2 separate regions of the Homo sapiens genome follow, and region 2 is linked to region 1. Evidence: promoter capture Hi-C in human tissues and cell types (Jung and others, 2019). All regions are on one chromosome and are shown on one strand. The core of a region is centred on a gene start or on the middle of the fragment in contact, and the rest is flanking DNA. Distances in the headings are between cores, read along the strand shown. Region 1 holds the start of TOR1B (torsin family 1 member B). Region 2 has its middle 19 kb from the start of IER5L.

Evidence for each region. Contacts are between HindIII fragments. The study calls those that stand out against the background at their distance.
Region 2: a contact is called between a fragment that was not itself captured here and the fragment with the promoter of TOR1B in region 1, in 1 of the 25 tissues and cell types used here (dorsolateral prefrontal cortex).

What each region holds. Positions count from the first base shown.
Region 1 is chr9:129,799,009-129,806,811 of GRCh38, forward strand. It overlaps TOR1B (torsin family 1 member B), which reads left to right and starts at 4,176. Exons shown (of 5, transcript NM_014506.3): 1 at 4,176-4,403; 2 at 5,065-5,330. The coding sequence starts at 4,205. RefSeq lists silencers at 4,256-4,385, 4,446-4,565. The HindIII fragment of the contact is 20,911 bases long and covers 1-7,803 here.
Region 2 is chr9:129,155,169-129,162,971 of GRCh38, forward strand. No RefSeq gene overlaps it. Among named protein-coding and RNA genes, the nearest start is that of IER5L, 19 kb to the right of the region's middle. The HindIII fragment of the contact is 3,797 bases long and covers 2,270-6,066 here.

The DNA.
Region 1 (7,803 bases), core at 2,926-5,425:
TTACGACCACCACAATGGAGACTAACCATGGCACCAATCCACTTGTGTCTTGCAGGACATCGTGTGTATTTTGCTTGATGAATATCAGTTACTGAGTTTTGTAATTCCAGATCTATCTAAACACCACTCATCAAATCCTGCCAGCACCCCGGTATAATCCTTAAAGACAACAAACATTTCCTTTGTGAGCTAAACTGTCTCTCCTGACTTGTGAACTTCACAGGATGGTTGAGAGGGTCAAAGGAGGTGATAGTCCCAGCAAATGGTTCCTGTTGAACTCTTACTCTATGCGGTGCTAAGTGCTCCACGTGCATCAGCTCACTGGTACCCCAGCAACTCCAAGAAGGGACTGTTGTGATCCCCACTTTACAGTTAGGGAAACTGAGTCCCAGAAAGGTGGCATCACATTTCCAGAGCCACTCAGCTAGGAAGAAAGGGAACAAACCAGGTTGTGATTTATAATCCCAACCTCCTCTTCTCCCTCCCAACTCCTGATGCTGCAAAGCCTCTGGAGACAGCAGAGCTGCCCCTTTGTCCCACGTGGCTGCGCCCTGATGAACACACCGGACTTGTCCAAGGCAGCCTCTTGGTCCTCAGGGTCAGCTGGAGAAGCATTTCAATTAGACAGACAGCATGGCCCTGGGTGCCAGGCTGCTTGTTAGACGGCCCTTGGAGAGATGCCGGGACAGCCTGACTCTTTCGGGCAGTGGTGGTGACATTCCTTGTGGTGGGACTTTCCTGCCTTAGGCCAGGCCTCTTCAGCCTGGGGTATGTGACCCTCTGAGGTAGGTGAAGACTTCCTAAGGGTGCATAAGAGTGGATCACTCTAAGGATCCTAATTCCAGAAACTCAACCTCTTTCTTCTTTCCTCCCTGGGTATGGCACCGGTGGCCCCAGCGGCCCCATGCTCCTTCTCATTTCCCCTTTCCCATTGGACTCTGGCTACTTGGAAAGGGGAAAAGTCACTTAGTAATTTCTTCCTATGGATATATGAAGTAAATGGAAAAAAAAAAGAGAACCCCAACCATCCTATTAAGAGATACATTTTCCATACACTTTTAGTTATTTAATTACTTATAAAAAGTTTGTGGGCTAAGAGTGGTGGTTCACATCTGTAATCCCAGCACTTTGGGAGGCCGAGGCAGGCGGATCACTTGAGGTCAGGAGTTCCAGACCAGCCTGGCCAACACGGTGAAACTGCATCTCTACTAAATCTCTACTAAAACTACAAAAAGTAGGCCGAGCGCGGTGGCTACACCTGTAATCCCAGCACTTTGGGAGGCCGAGGTGGGCAGATCACGAGGTCAAGAGTTCGAGACCAGCCTGGCCAACATGGTGAAACCCCGTCTCTACTAAAAACAGATGGGCATGGTAGTGCACACCTGTAATCCCAGCTACTGGGGAGGCTGAGGCAGGAGAATGGCTTGAACCCAGGAGGCAGAGGTTGCAGTGAGCGGAGATCATGCCACTGCACTCCAGCCTGGGTGACAAAGCGAGACTCCATCTCAAAAAAAAAAAAAAAAAAAAAATAGCTGGGCATCGTGATGCACACGTGTAATCCCAGCTACTCGGAGGCTGAGGCAGGAGAATTGCTTGAACCTAAGAGGCAGAGGCTGCAGTGAGCTGAGATCATGCCACTGCACTCTGCACTCCAGCCTGGGCAACAGAGTGAGCTGCTGTCTCAAAAAAAAAAAAAGTTTAAGCCACTTCCCACGGCCAACTTCTATTCTTTTTTTTTTTCTTCTTTTTTTTGAGACGGAGTCTTGCTCTGTCGCCCAGGCTGGAATGCAGTGGCGCAATCTTGGCTCACTGCAACCTCTGCCTCCTGGGTTCAAGCCATTTTCCTGTCTCAGCCTCCCGAGTACCTGGGATTACAGGCGCGCACCACCACACCTGGCTAATTTTTGTATTTTTTGTAGAGACGGGATTTCACCATGTTGGCCAGGCTGGTCTCGAACTCCTGACCTCAGGTGACCTGCCTGCCTCGGCCTCCCAAAGTCCTGGGATTACAGGCATGAGCCAGTGCACCTGGCCCTTCCATTCATTCTTTAGATCGCAACTGAGATAGGGAGGAGAAGATCCCTCCCCACCCACAGGCCTCTGTGCATCCTGCATTACAGCCTTGGCCCACCCTGGACATAAGCTGCCTGCTTGCTCATCTGTCTCCCTGACTAGTTACCTGGACCACGGCAACAGCCTCTTCACTGGCTCTCTGCCTTCCATTTCTTGTGAACCCAGCAGCCAGAATGATCTCTGATCTGACCATGTTGCTTCCTGTGTAAAACCCTCTGTGGCTCCCTATTACCCCCCAGAACAGAGGCCAAACTCCTTACAACATTCGCAAGGACTTCACCTTCCAGTCTCTGCCTGATTCTTCATCCCTATCTCTCACCACCTTCCGCCATGTGGAATCCTTTCAGTTCTCCAAACTGACTGTTGTTTTCTGCCTAAAACACTCTACTCATTTTTTGCCTGGCCTAACTCCCTCAGTGCCCAGCTTAGACAAAAGCCTTCCCTGTACCACTGTCCGATACTTCTCTGCCCACTCAGCATTGAGTCTCACCCCTTTGTCGGCCTCCCCCATAGACCGTCAGCTCTGAGAGGGCAGGGGCCAACTCCGTCCCCTCCTCTGCTGTCGTTCCTGGCATCCAGCAAGGGGCCTGCCACCTAGCGTGCTGAATGAAAGAATGGACCTCGGGATTTCAGTGTGGAAGCCTGGGCAGGTCTGTCTTGGGGCCGCTGCATCCCCAGTGCTCAGTCTAGGGCGCAGCACGGAGAGTTCGCAACTGTTTCAGGAAGAAGGCAGGCGGGTGGGCCGACCCAAGAAACGCACATTATACCTCCGGCGAAGTGAAGGGAGGGATAACAAAGCAAAGCTTGAGGGCTCCGAGAAGCTCTGAAGAAAACAAATCCAGCCATAAGCCCACTCCTGTAACCCCAGGCTTTGGAAGACGGAGGCAGGTAGATCGCTTGAGGTCAGGAGTTCGAGACCAGCTTGGGCCACATGGCGAAACCCCGTCTCTACTAAAAACACAAAAGTTGGCTGGGCGTGTTGGCGGGCACCTATAATCCCAGCTACTCCAGCAGCTGAGATGGGAGAATCGCTTGAACCTGGGAGGAAGAGTTTGCAGCGAGCCGAGATCCTGCCACTGCGCTCCAGCCGGGGCGACAGAGCCAGACCCTGTCCCCAATATACATATCAGATAAGAAAAAAATATAAGAAAGTTTAAAAAAATTTTTTTTGGCTTTTTTTTGTTTTTTTTGAGACGGAGTCTCGCTCTGTCGTCCAGGCTGGAGTGCAGTGGCACGATCTCGGCTCACTGCAAGCTCCGCCTCCCAGGTTCACGCCATTCTCCTGCCTCAGCCTCCCGAGTAGCTGGGACTACAGGCGCCCGCCACCATGCCCGGCTGATTTTTTCTATTTTTCGTAGTGATGGGATTTCACTGTGTTAGCCAGGATGGTCTTGATCTCCTGACCTCGTGATCCGCCTGCCTCGGCCTCCCAAAGTGCTGGGATTACAGGCGTGAGCCGCCGCGCCCGGCCAGCCTTTTTTTTTTTTTTTGAGACAGTTTCGCTCTTGTCGCCCAGGCTGGAGTGCAGTGGCACGATCTCGGCTAACTGCAACCTCCGCCTCCTGGGTTCAAGAGATTCTCCTGCCTCAACCTCCCGAGTAGCTGGGATTACAGGCGCCCGCCACCACACCCATCTAATTTTTTGTATTTTTAGTAGAGACGGGGTTTCGCCACGTTGAGCAGGCTGGTCTCGAACTCCTGACATCAGGTGATCCGCCCGCTTCAGCTTCCCAAAGTGCTGGGATTACAGGCGTGAGCCACGGCGCCCGGCCAAAAAAAAAAAATTTTTTTTTTTTTTTTTAGATATTTTTTCACTCTTGTTGCCCAGGCTGGAGTGCAATGGCGTGATCTCGGCTCGGCCTCCCAAAGTCCTGGGATTACAGGCGTGAGCCACCGCGCCCGGCCCGAAAAAATTTTTTTAAAAGAAAAGGGAAACAAAACAGTCTCCTACACCTTCGGACCACTCCCAAGAACGATGGCACCGCCCTCCTCTCCGCCCCTCACCAACATGGCCGCCCCCAAGGGAGTGGGCGGGTCTGCGGGGCGGAAGTGACGCACGAGAGGAAGTCCGTCCTGCCGCTTGGCCGCGGGGCGCCTGGCTCAGTGGCTTCTGCGGGCTTCGAGGAGCGGGATGTTGCGGGCTGGGTGGCTCCGGGGCGCGGCGGCGCTGGCGCTGCTGCTGGCGGCCCGAGTGGTGGCGGCGTTCGAGCCCATCACCGTGGGCCTAGCCATCGGGGCCGCGTCGGCCATCACCGGCTACCTGTCCTACAATGACATCTACTGCCGCTTCGCCGAGTGCTGCCGCGAGGAGCGGCCGCTCAACGCTTCGGGTACGGCGCGCGCGCGAGCTGTGGGTCGGCGCTGCGGGGGGCGCGGGGGCGCGGGGGCGCGGAGGGACGGCCTCGTGGGCGCCTGGCACGGACCGGGCCCGTGGCATCTAGACGGCGGTGGTCCCAGCTGGGGTGGGCGGGGAGCGGATGGGGCGGCCCCGGAACCGTTCGCGGGAACGCAGAAGCGGTGCCTTCGCAAACAGTCTCCAGATCGTGGGGCTGCCCCAGCGCCTTTCTAAAGCTCCCGTTCCTTGGGATCACAGGTGGAAGAAACGGAAAGTAGGCGGGCGGCCCTTCTGCGCCCTGCCAACCCTATTAAGTAGTTTTCAGACGTGCTGCGTCGCCCAGAAAGCCCACATTTGGCCCCTGGTTTTCCTGCAGGTCAGCAAGGGTGGCTGGGATTAGCAAGCGCTCAGTCAAGCGATGGTTCATCTCTGAATGAATGAACATTTAGCTTCCTTATCAGACCCCGAAGCGTTAAGGACCTCCACATAATCTTGAAAGTGGCATCGTTTGACTGCCTCGGCCCTAGGGTGTGGCAGACACCCTGCTGTGTCCCTGGATAATCTGTGCTTCTTGCTTTGGCCAGCTAAGAAAGTGCTGCGTTGCTGATGCATTTTTAAGGTCTGTTTCTCTCTTTGTTCTGGGGCTGTTCTTGCAGCTCTCAAGCTGGATTTGGAGGAGAAGCTGTTTGGACAGCATCTAGCCACGGAAGTGATTTTCAAGGCGCTGACTGGCTTCAGGAACAACAAAAATCCCAAGAAACCACTGACCCTTTCCTTACACGGCTGGGCTGGCACAGGCAAGAATTTTGTCAGTCAAATTGTGGCTGAAAATCTTCACCCAAAAGGTCTGAAGAGTAACTTTGTCCACCTGTTTGTATCGACTCTGCACTTCCCTCATGAGCAGAAGATAAAACTGTACCAGGCAAGAGAACCCGCTATTATCTCGTCTGCAGGCCAGTCGGACTGGTCCGGGTGACCTGCTCACTAACTCTGGCCTCTGCTTCTCTTTCCTTTGTGTTGCTGTAGCCCCCGGCTCCACTGAGTTAAGGCACACTTAGTCCAGGTAGTTACAAAGCTCTCCTACAACATTTCTCTTACTTGGTTCCAAAACAGTCCAGTGGGGTAGGGGATGTTATTTCCATTAAAAGATGGGGAGCCAAGGGCCTGGCGCCGTGGCTCACGCCTGTAATCCCAGCATTTTGGGGAAGCCGAGGCGGGCGGATCATTTGAGGCCAGGAGTTTGAGACCAGCCTGGCCAACATGGTGAAACCCCATCTCTACCTAAAAGTACCAAAATTACCTGAGCACGGTGGCACGCACCTGTAATCCCAGCTACTTGGGAGGCTGAGGCAGGAGAATCGCTTGAACCTGGGTGGCAGAGGTTGCAGTGAGCTGAGATCGCGCCACCGTACTCGGTCTCAAAAAAAAAAAAAAAAAAAAGGCCTGGCACAGTGGCTCACGCCTGTAATCCCAGCACTTTCGGAGGCCGAGGGGGGCGGATCACGAGGTCAGGAGATGGAGACCATCCTGGCTAACACGGTGAGACCCCGTCTCTACTAAAAATACAAAAAATTAGCCGGGGATGGTGGCGGGCACCTGTTGTCCCAGCTACTCGGGAGGCTGAGGCAGGAGAATGGCCTGAACCCGGGAGGCGGAGCTTGCACTGAGCCGAGATCGCGCCACTGCACTCCAGCCTGGGCGACACAGTGAGACTCTGTCTCAGAAAAAAAAAAAAAAAAGAGAGATGTAGTCAGGGCCAGGTGCAGTGGCTCACGCCTGTAATCCCAGCACTTTGGGATCCGCCAAGGCGGGCGGATCACCTGAGGTCGGGAGTTCGAGACCAGCCTGACCAACATGGAGAAACCCCGTCTCTACTGAAAATACAAAATTAGCCGGGCGTGATGGCGTGCGCCTGTAATTCAAGCTACTTGGGAGGCTGAGGTTGCAGTCAGCTGAGAATGGGCCACTGCACCCCAGCCTGGGCAACAGAATGAGACTCTGTCTCAAAAAAAAAGAAAAAAAAAAAAGATGGAGCCTGGAGCCCAGAGGCAAGGTGACTTACTCCTACAATCTTTGTAGCAGAACAGGACCTTTGTAGCAGAACCAAAACCTCCCAACTCCCAGTTGACATGGTAGCCACCTTCTCTGGTGAGTGAAGGGATTCCACATCCCCAGCAGTGCAGTTGGTGAGAAGGGGCAGTCAGTCTTCAAGGATTTGCTCCGGTGTGGCTTCATTCAATGCTGCCCACCTCTGGTGCAGCCTCAGCTTTGCCTCTGCTCTTTGCAATGTAGCCTAGAGGTCTTTTTTCTCCTTAACAGGTTTTATTCCCTTTGTTCCTCCCATCCTTCATGTCCTTGGCATTGCTTTCTTCAAAGGAAGCCTCAAAGAACTGAACCTTGAGACTGTTTCTCCTTTTGAGATATTGTTTCCACATTCATTTTATATTAAGTTGTCTAGGAGGGTTAGTTCTCATTTAAATGAATGTTGTCCTTGTCAAGGTTAACATTCCCACTGGCAACATAGCAAGACTCCATCTCTACAAAAAATAAAAAAATTAGCCAGGTGTAGTGGCATGCACCTGTAGTCCCAGCTACTTGGGAGGCTGAGATGGGAGGATCGCTTGAGCCCGGGAGGCTGAGCCTACAATGAACCATGGTCATGTCACTGCATTCCAGTCTGGGCGACAGAGTAAGACTCTATCTCAAAAAAAAAAAAAAAAAATTCCTCCTGTTAGGTGGGGACTGAAGAAAGAAATAGAAACTTAACTGAACAAGGAAGTAGAAGTGTTTGCCCAACAAACTGACGTGAGACAGGGAAGACTGCTAAAAAGGAAGGAAGGAAGGATTTTCTTGTTCTTTACATTCTTCATAAATCTCCGGAAACAGAGTAATATAAATGGTTGAGGGCATGTCTGGGGGAGTTTCCTGGTATAGCCTTTCACGCTTTGGGGTTGAGGGCTTGTTGCTTGAGTGTCTTTATGTTTGTTTGAAGAAAACATCTGGAACAGATGCTTTTCATGAAATGTCATTGAGTCAGCTCTGTTGGTCTGGGGCACTGTGTACTGTGCAGGTCTTGATCTAGTTCCTTATTCCTCAGTATGTCTGATAGTACTAACTTGAGATTGTAGTCCAAGAGAGATGAAAACTATGGCTACGTTAGCAGTGAATGATATTCACGGATCTTGCCGGGTGGCTCATTCCTGTAATCTCAGCACTTTGGGAGGGTGAGGTGGGTGGATCACCTGAGGTCAGGAGTTTGAGACGAGCCTGGCCAACATGGCACAACCCTGTCTCTACTAAAAATACAAAAATTAGCCAGGCATGGTGCAGGGGATCGGGGCGCCTGTAGTCCCAACTACACGGGGGGCTGAGGCCGGGGAATCGCTTGAACCCAA
Region 2 (7,803 bases), core at 2,918-5,417, 640 kb before region 1:
AAGTTGGGGCTTTTCAAAAGGGACACTGCAAAGGCAGGCCGAGTGCAGCACCTCATCTCCAGGTAACTGGACCCAGCCCCGGGCAGGACAGGCAGGTGGGCGGGCTGCGGACGGAACAGCCTGCTCCTGCTCCCCACCTCTGCTTGGTGAGATTGGGCCTGGCCCTTGCTGGGCTGACGGACTGCGCACACCCTCTAGAGCCAGCTCCTGCCCTCTGCAAGGGGTGGGGAGCGTGGTGGCCAAGGTGTGCGTGGGCTCTGGAGTGGCTCTTGCATTTCCCTCTGTGTGACCTTGAGCCATGACTGAACCCCTCTGAGCCTCAGTTTCCTTACGTATAAACAAGGTAAGTAAACATGGCCTTACAGGGTGGATGTACCAGACACCGAACGGACACAGCCCAGGGCTTTGCTGGCACCGTCTCATTGAATCTCCGCAGGCCACCCTGCGAGGTGGGCATGTGGCAACCGAGCCATGGGGGAATTCCTTGGTGGTAAGTGGGTTTCAAACCTGGGCCATCAGGCTCCAGCGTGGACATTTCTTTCTTTCTTTCTTTCTTTTTTTTTTCTTTGAGACAAGAGTCTTGCTGTGTCATCCAGGCTGGAGTGCAGTGGTGCCATCTCTGCTCACTGCAACCCCCAACTCCTGGATTCAAGCGATTCTCCTGCTTTAGCCTCCCAAGTAGCCAAGATTACTGGTGTGCACCACCACACCCGGCTAATTTTGTATTTTTAGTAGAGACGGGGTTTCACCATGTTGGCCAGGCTGGTCTCGAACTCCTAACCTCAGGTGATCCACCCACCTTGGCCTCCCAAAGTGCTGGGATTACAGGCATGAGCCACTGTGCCCAGCTCAGTGTGGACATTTCTACCCACTGAGCCCAATAATGGCTGTGAATCTGTCCCACGAACGTTTACTGAGCACTTGCTCTGCCAGGCTCCAAGGAGACCCCAAGGACCATGGAGGAGGCAGATGCGGTTCCGTCCCTCATGGAGGTTTAAGGAGGACACGGGGCATGTGGGGAGCTGTGGGAATGTCGTGGACAGGGTGGAGAGCCTTCCTTGAAGGCAGGATGAGGGCTCCGGCAGCAAGGCTGGGAGGTGTGCTGGGTGTCTGGAGCTGGGGCGGTCGTTCCCTTGCTGGCTACTGGCCCCAGGCCTGGCTTCTGCCCGGACTGTGGTGGCCTGGCCATTCCTTCAGGAGTGGCTCCTGCCCTACTCCATGCAAATTCCTGGTCCCCATGTCTCAGTTGCCACTGCTGCTCCAGGCCCCAGCAGCTGTCTGCCCCCTGATGTCTGGGGGTTCCCGCAGCGAGCCTGGAGCTTGTGGCTCCTGCATGCGGCCTATGTGTCTGGCCCTGAGCTAAGTGCTTCGAAGCTTCTCTTGCCTCATCCTCACAATGGGCGCTGATGTCCTCATTTCACAGAAGGGTCTGGGGTCTCTTTCCCGCCAAAGCTCGTGCTCCTGCAGCCTCTCCACGGGGCCTGACCTGAGGGCTCGGGTGGCATGGGCTGCCGTGTGCTGCCTGTCCCCACTGTGGTGGCCTGAGAGCCCTCCTCCACTCCACTTCACTCTACCCCCTCCCCCTCCTCCTCCTCTTCCTCCTGCTCCTGCACCCATCTCTCCAGGACTGGCCCCAGACCCTGGGCTTCTCTGAGAGGCACCTCTTCCAAGGGCCCAGTTTCTTTTTGGAGGCAGGGCCGATTTGCACAAAGATGACGAAGACGCATGACAGCAATGACTCTCTGGCTGGTAGCGTGCCTCTTGGTGTGTGCAGATTGTGCTTTATGTGTCACCTCGTGGAGTCCCCACAGTGAGCCGAGAAGGTGGCATCACATTCCCAGTCAAGGGCTTTTGGTGGTGGGGCTCAGATCTTAGTGGCGTCCCAGGGCCTCCAGCTTGTCCAAGTGGGTTCAGGGTGGTGCCCAGGTTTGTCTGACACCAGGTCCTACAAAGGCCAGCATGGTGGGGTACCCGGAGCTGGGCAAGGGAAAGATTGGCTATGGCCACGTGGCTCCTTGTTCTCCCCAAGGCAGTCTGTCTCTGCGGACAGCCATCAGGCCCCAAATCCAGGCGTCATCCTTTTTATTTTTTGAGACAGGATCTTGCTCTGTCACCCAGGCTGGAGTGCAGTGGCTCGATTTCAGCTCACTGCAAACTTTGCCTCCCAGGTTCAAGTGATTCTCCTGGCTCAGCCTCCCTAGTAGCTAGGATTATAGGCCTGCACCACCACGCCTGGCTAATTTTGTATTTTTAGTAGAGACCGGGTTTCACCATGTTGGCCAGGCTGGTCTCCAACTCCTGGCCTCAAGTGATCCACCTGCCTCAGCATCCCAAAGTCCTGAGATTATAGGAGTGAGTCACCGTGCCTGGCCCAGGTGTTATCTTTTTTATTTTTATTTTTTGAGACAGAGTCTTGCTCTGTCGTCCAGGCTGGTGCAGTGGCACAATCATAGCTCACTGCAGCCTTGGCCTCGTTTACCCTCTATTGCTTGAGAGTTTACTCTCCTGGGTCCACACCTGGGACTACAGGTGTGCACCATTATGCCCAGCTAAATTTAAGAAACTTTTTTTCTGTAGAGACAGGGTTTCCCTATGTTGCCCAGGCTGGTCTCAAACTCCTGAGCACAAGTGATCCTCGTGCCTCGGCCTCTCAAAGTGCTGGGATTATTACAGGTATGAGCTACCATACCTGGTGCAGGTGTTATCCTGAATTCCTTTCTTTTCCTCTACCTCTCAAATCCAACCCATGAGCAGGTCCTATTGGGTCTCCCTCCAAATTGTAACCCAAATCTGCCCGCAGCCAGGGAGCACGGTCAGCTCTCCCAGGAGCGCTGGCCAGCAGCATCTCCTCTCTGCTCTCCTGACTCCACTCTGCCACTGTCCCTGGGCTCTACCCTGAGGTGCTTAAAGGTGATTCTACCCTGAGGTGCTTGAAGGTCACTCCCATCAGATCCCTACTTGAAGGGTGGCTCCTGACTGTGCACAGAAGGCCCCACGAGGTGATGAGCCACTGTGCCCCCGCCCCACTCGCCCACTCCCGTACTTCAGTCATGTTGCCCTCTCTCTGGTCCTCCAGAATGTCTTTTTTTTGTTTGTTTTTGAGACAGAGTCTCGCTCTGTCACCCAGGCTGGAGTGCAGTGGCGCGATCTCGGCTCACTGCAAGCTTCGCCTCCCGGGTTCACACCATTCTCCTGCCTCAGCCTCCCGAGTAGCTGGGACTACAGGCGTCCGCCACCACACCCGGCTAATTTTTTTGTATTTTTAGTAGAGACGGGGTTTCACCGTGTTAGCCAGGATGGTCTCGATCTCCTGACCTTGTGATCTGCCCGCCTTGGCCTCTCAAAGTGCTGGGATTACAGGTGTGAGCCACCATGCCCTGCCTGGTCCTCCAAAATGTCAAACTTGTTGCTGCCCCAGGGCCTTGGCACTTGCTGTTTCCTTGGCTTGCACTGCTTGAGCCCAGGCTGAGCAGAGGCACCCTCTGGTTGTTCAGGGCCCAGTTCAGATGCCACCTCCCGAGAGAGGCGTCCCAGCTTTCTTTTTTTTCTTTTTTTTTTTTGAGATGGAGTCTCGCTCTGTCCCCCAGGCTGGAGTGCAGTGGCGCGATCTCGGCTCACTACAAGCTCCGCCTTCCAGGTTCACACCATTCTCCTGCCTCAGCCTCCCGAGTAGCAGGGACTACAGGCACCCACCACCACGCCCGGTTAATTTTTTGTATTTTTAGTAGAAACGAGGTTTCACTGTGTTAGCCAGGATGGTCTTGATCTCCTGACCTCGTGATCCACCTGCCTCGGCCTCCCAAAGTGCTGGGATTACAGGCATGAGCCATTGTGCCCGGCCACACTCCAGCTTTCTCTGAGTTGCTCCTAACTTGAGCCTCCATCCGCCCTCTGTTCCAGTTGCCTTCATGAGCCCAGTTTCATCTCAAGTTTTATTATCTATGAACTTGTTCACTTGGTGATCATCTCCCTCTCAGTGGATGGTAAGCCCAGTGAGGGAGGGCACAGGCTTACTGTGGCCAACACTGGGCCCCCAGCACCAGGAGTAGGGGCTGGCCCAGACTACGTGGATGCCCAGTTACTACCTGCTGAACCATGAATGAATGAATGAATGAATGAATAAAAAAGTAAGTCCTCTGTCCCTGGTGTTATCCTAGAAGAAGCTGAACAACAGGTGCTGACCAGGGCCTTGGCTGCAAAGTTGCTCTCCCCTTACTCCAATGCAGGAGCTCTGGGGGTCCCGTGGAGGGCCCTGCGGGCAGGACAGCTTCCCAGTGTCCCAAACTCTGAGGGTTTGTGCTTCTGCAGCTCACTCCCAAGTTTGGGCAGCACCCTTGATGGAAACGGGCAGACTGCATGGACTTGGCCTCAGGCAGGTGAAGTCCGTGGGACATTCCCAAGGTTGGAGAGGCAGAGCAGCAAGGGAGAGGCTAAGTGGGAGTCACGCTGCTTTTGATAAACTAGTGATGCCAGCCGGGTGTGGTGGCTTACACCTGTAATGCCAGCACTTTGGAAGGACAAGGGGGTCCGATCACCTGAGGTCAATAGTTCGAGACCAGCCTGGCCAACATGGTGAAACCTTGTCTCTACTAAAAATACAAAAAATTAGCTGGGTGTGTTAGTGGGCACGTGTAATTCCAGCTACTTGGGAGGCTGAGGTGAGAGAATCACTTGAACCCAGGAGGCGGAGGTTGCAGTGAGCCGAGATCATGCCACTGCACTCCAGCCTGGGCAACAGAGGGAGACTCTGTCTCAAACAAACAAAACAACAAGAACAACAACAACAAAAAAACTAGTGATACCACCTGCCTTGGCAGGATAAAGGTCCCAGTGCTTGTCTTGGCACCCAAGGAGCAGTCGAGCCCCCTTTGCTGGCCTCCTTGCCTTCCTCTGGAACCTCTGCTTCAGTGACAGAGCCAGGGCTCATTCACAGCTATGTTCTCAGTGCCTGCCTGACCCACAGAAGTGTTTTGTTGTTTTTTTTTTTGAGACGGAGTCTGGCTCTGTCACCCAGGCTGGAGTGCAGTGGTGCAGTCTTGGCTCACTGAAGCCTCCACCTTCTGGGTTCAAGCGATCCTCCCACCCTAGCCTCCCAAGTAGCTGGGATTACAGGCACGCACCACCATGCCCAGTTAATTTTTATATTTTTAGTAGAGACAAGGTTTCACCATGTTGGCCAGGCTGGTCTCGAACTCCTGACCTCAGATGATCTGCCTGCCTTGGCCTCTCAAAGTGCTGGGATTACAAGCACAGTGAGCCACTGTGCCCGACCAGAAGTGGGTTCCTTCCATGCGCCATTCCCTCCAGGTGCTGGGGACAGAGGGGTGAACTGGTGAATTTCCTGCCCTTGTAAAATTTGCGTCTAGTGAGGACGATAGACAAATAAATATACAGCAAAATACTGGGCAGCGATAAAGTCTATGAAACAAGGGTAATTGTGATAGAGAAATATTATTTTGAAGGGGGTAGTGAGGGTGGCACTTGAACAGAGACCTCAGTTCGTGACAGAGATTACCCTGAAAGGAGCTGAGAGAGCATTCCCGGCAGAGGGAACAGCAAGTACCAAGGCCCTGAGGTGGGAACAGCTTTGACACTTGGGGAACAGCAAGGAGGAGGCTACAGGGCATTGAGTGATGGGGAGGGGTGGGGATGAGTGGAGAGGCAGCGGGCTGGCTCAGCAGGGCCTTGCAGAGGCCATAGTAAGGACTCTGTTTGCCTTGCTTGCCCTTCCTGTTTTCTCTCCCTTTCTCCCTCCTTTTCTCCCTCCCTCGCTTCCTTCCTTTCTTCCCCCTCCCTCTCCCCTCCCCTTCTCTCCCCTTCTCTTCTTTCCTTTCCTTCCTTCCTTTTCTACCTTCCCACTTGCCCTCCCTCCTTCTCTCTCTCTCTCTCTTTTTTTTTTTTTTGAGACAGGGTCTCACTCTGTCGCCCAGGCTGGAGTGCAGTGGTGCAATCATGGCTTACTGCAACCTTGACCTCCCAGGTCCAAGTGATCCTCCCACCTCAGCCTCCTGAGCAGCTGGGACTACAGGCATGCGCCACCACACCCAGCTAGGCTTTTATTTTTGGTAGAGACAGGGTCTCCTTATGTTGCCCAGGCTGGTCTCAAACTCCTGGGATCAAGTGATCCTCCCGCCTTTGCCTCCCAAAGTGCTGGGATGACAGGCATGAGCCGCTGCGCCCGGCCTGTGTTTTGTTCTGAGTGGAGTGGGGGCAGTGGTGTGCTCACACTGGCTTGCGAGAGCTGACTGTGCACATTCCTCTCCCTCTCCATGTTCAGCGATGTCACATGGTAGCTAGGAATTGGCCAAAATGGGAGTGTTTACACCACAGGAATTGGCAAATTCTTCAAGTGAGCTCCACCCACCAGCTGGTTTTAAACATTTACACTACTGGGAAGGTTTGAGATGGGGAGAGCTATGATTCGACTTCAACATGTTCGCATGTACGGGAGTGGAGAGGAGGAGAACGGCCAGTAGGAGGGCAAGCGCGAACACAGGAAGACCAGGGAGATCTGCAGGGAGGTTAGTGCACTAGTCCAGGAGGGAGGTGGTGTGGCTGGGCTGGGAGAGCAACAGCAATGGTACTAAGGTAGATTGTGAAGCTCTTCTTTTTTTTTTTTTTTTTTTGAGACGGAGTGTCTGTCACCAGGCTGGAGTGCAATGGCGCGATCTCGGCTCACTGCAGCCTCTGCCTCCTGGATTCAAGTGATTCTCCTGCCTCAGCCTCCCGAGGAGCTGAGATTACAGACATGCGCAACCACGCCTGGCTAATTTTTGTATTTATTAGTAGTGATGGGGGTTTCACCATGTTGGCCAGGCTGGTCATGAACTCCTGACCTCAGGTGATCCTCCTGTCTTGGCCTCCCGAAGTGCTGGAATTACAGGCGTGAGCCGCCGTGTCTGGCCTGATTGTGAATCTCTTCTGAAGGAGGATTTGCTGATGGACTGGATTTGGCTTTGTGAACAAAAAAGGAGTCACGATGCCCTGGTTTTTGGCCTGAACAACTTGCTGGATGGTGGGACGGGGCAATGGCGGGGAGAAGCAGAGGTTGTAGGTGTCTCTCCGGGGTTTGAAAGGCCCAGACAGACGAGTTCTTAGATGTCAGTATCCCAAGAGTAGAGGCCAAACATGGTGGGACCCTTGACTTGCATTCGGCACGGAGGTCCTGGCTGGAGAGAATTGTCAGTGGGTTGAAGGGACCAGGAGAAGGTGGCAGGAAGGGAGAAGGGGCCAAGGCCTGAGCCCTGGGACTCGCCGGCATTTAGAGGAAGGGAGACTGGGAACTATGAGCCGGAAGAGAGGAACTACATTGCGTCTCTCCTCCAGCTGGTATCTACATTTTTTATTTTTTCACACCAAGCACGAGAGGTGTGTGTACAAGACGCACAGTGGCGGCCTGTGGCTGTGCAGCGCCCTCTCCTCTGGCAACAGAACCTTCTTCCCAATGGAGAAGCCACGAGAAAGGGTTGAGGTGGGGCCGGTCAGCCCCCTACTCAGGGGTGGACACATGCCCAGACCTGGCCAATCACAGGGGCCCTGCTTTCCTGTGCACTGTGATTGGTTCTGGGATGAGCTTGTGACCTGGCTGTGCCAATGAGGATCATCCCCAATGCCCTCTGTTAGATCAGGTGGGAAGATGCCCTGTGCCAGGGCTGCTAAGCTGGGAAGATGCCATCCTGGGGATGCCAGTGGCAAGGCCAGGTACAGGATCTGTGGGGTGCGATACAACATGAAAATGCAGGGCCCCTTGCTCAAAAAGCAGGAAAAAGTGCCACGAAGGGTCCATAGAACGCTTCCTTCCAC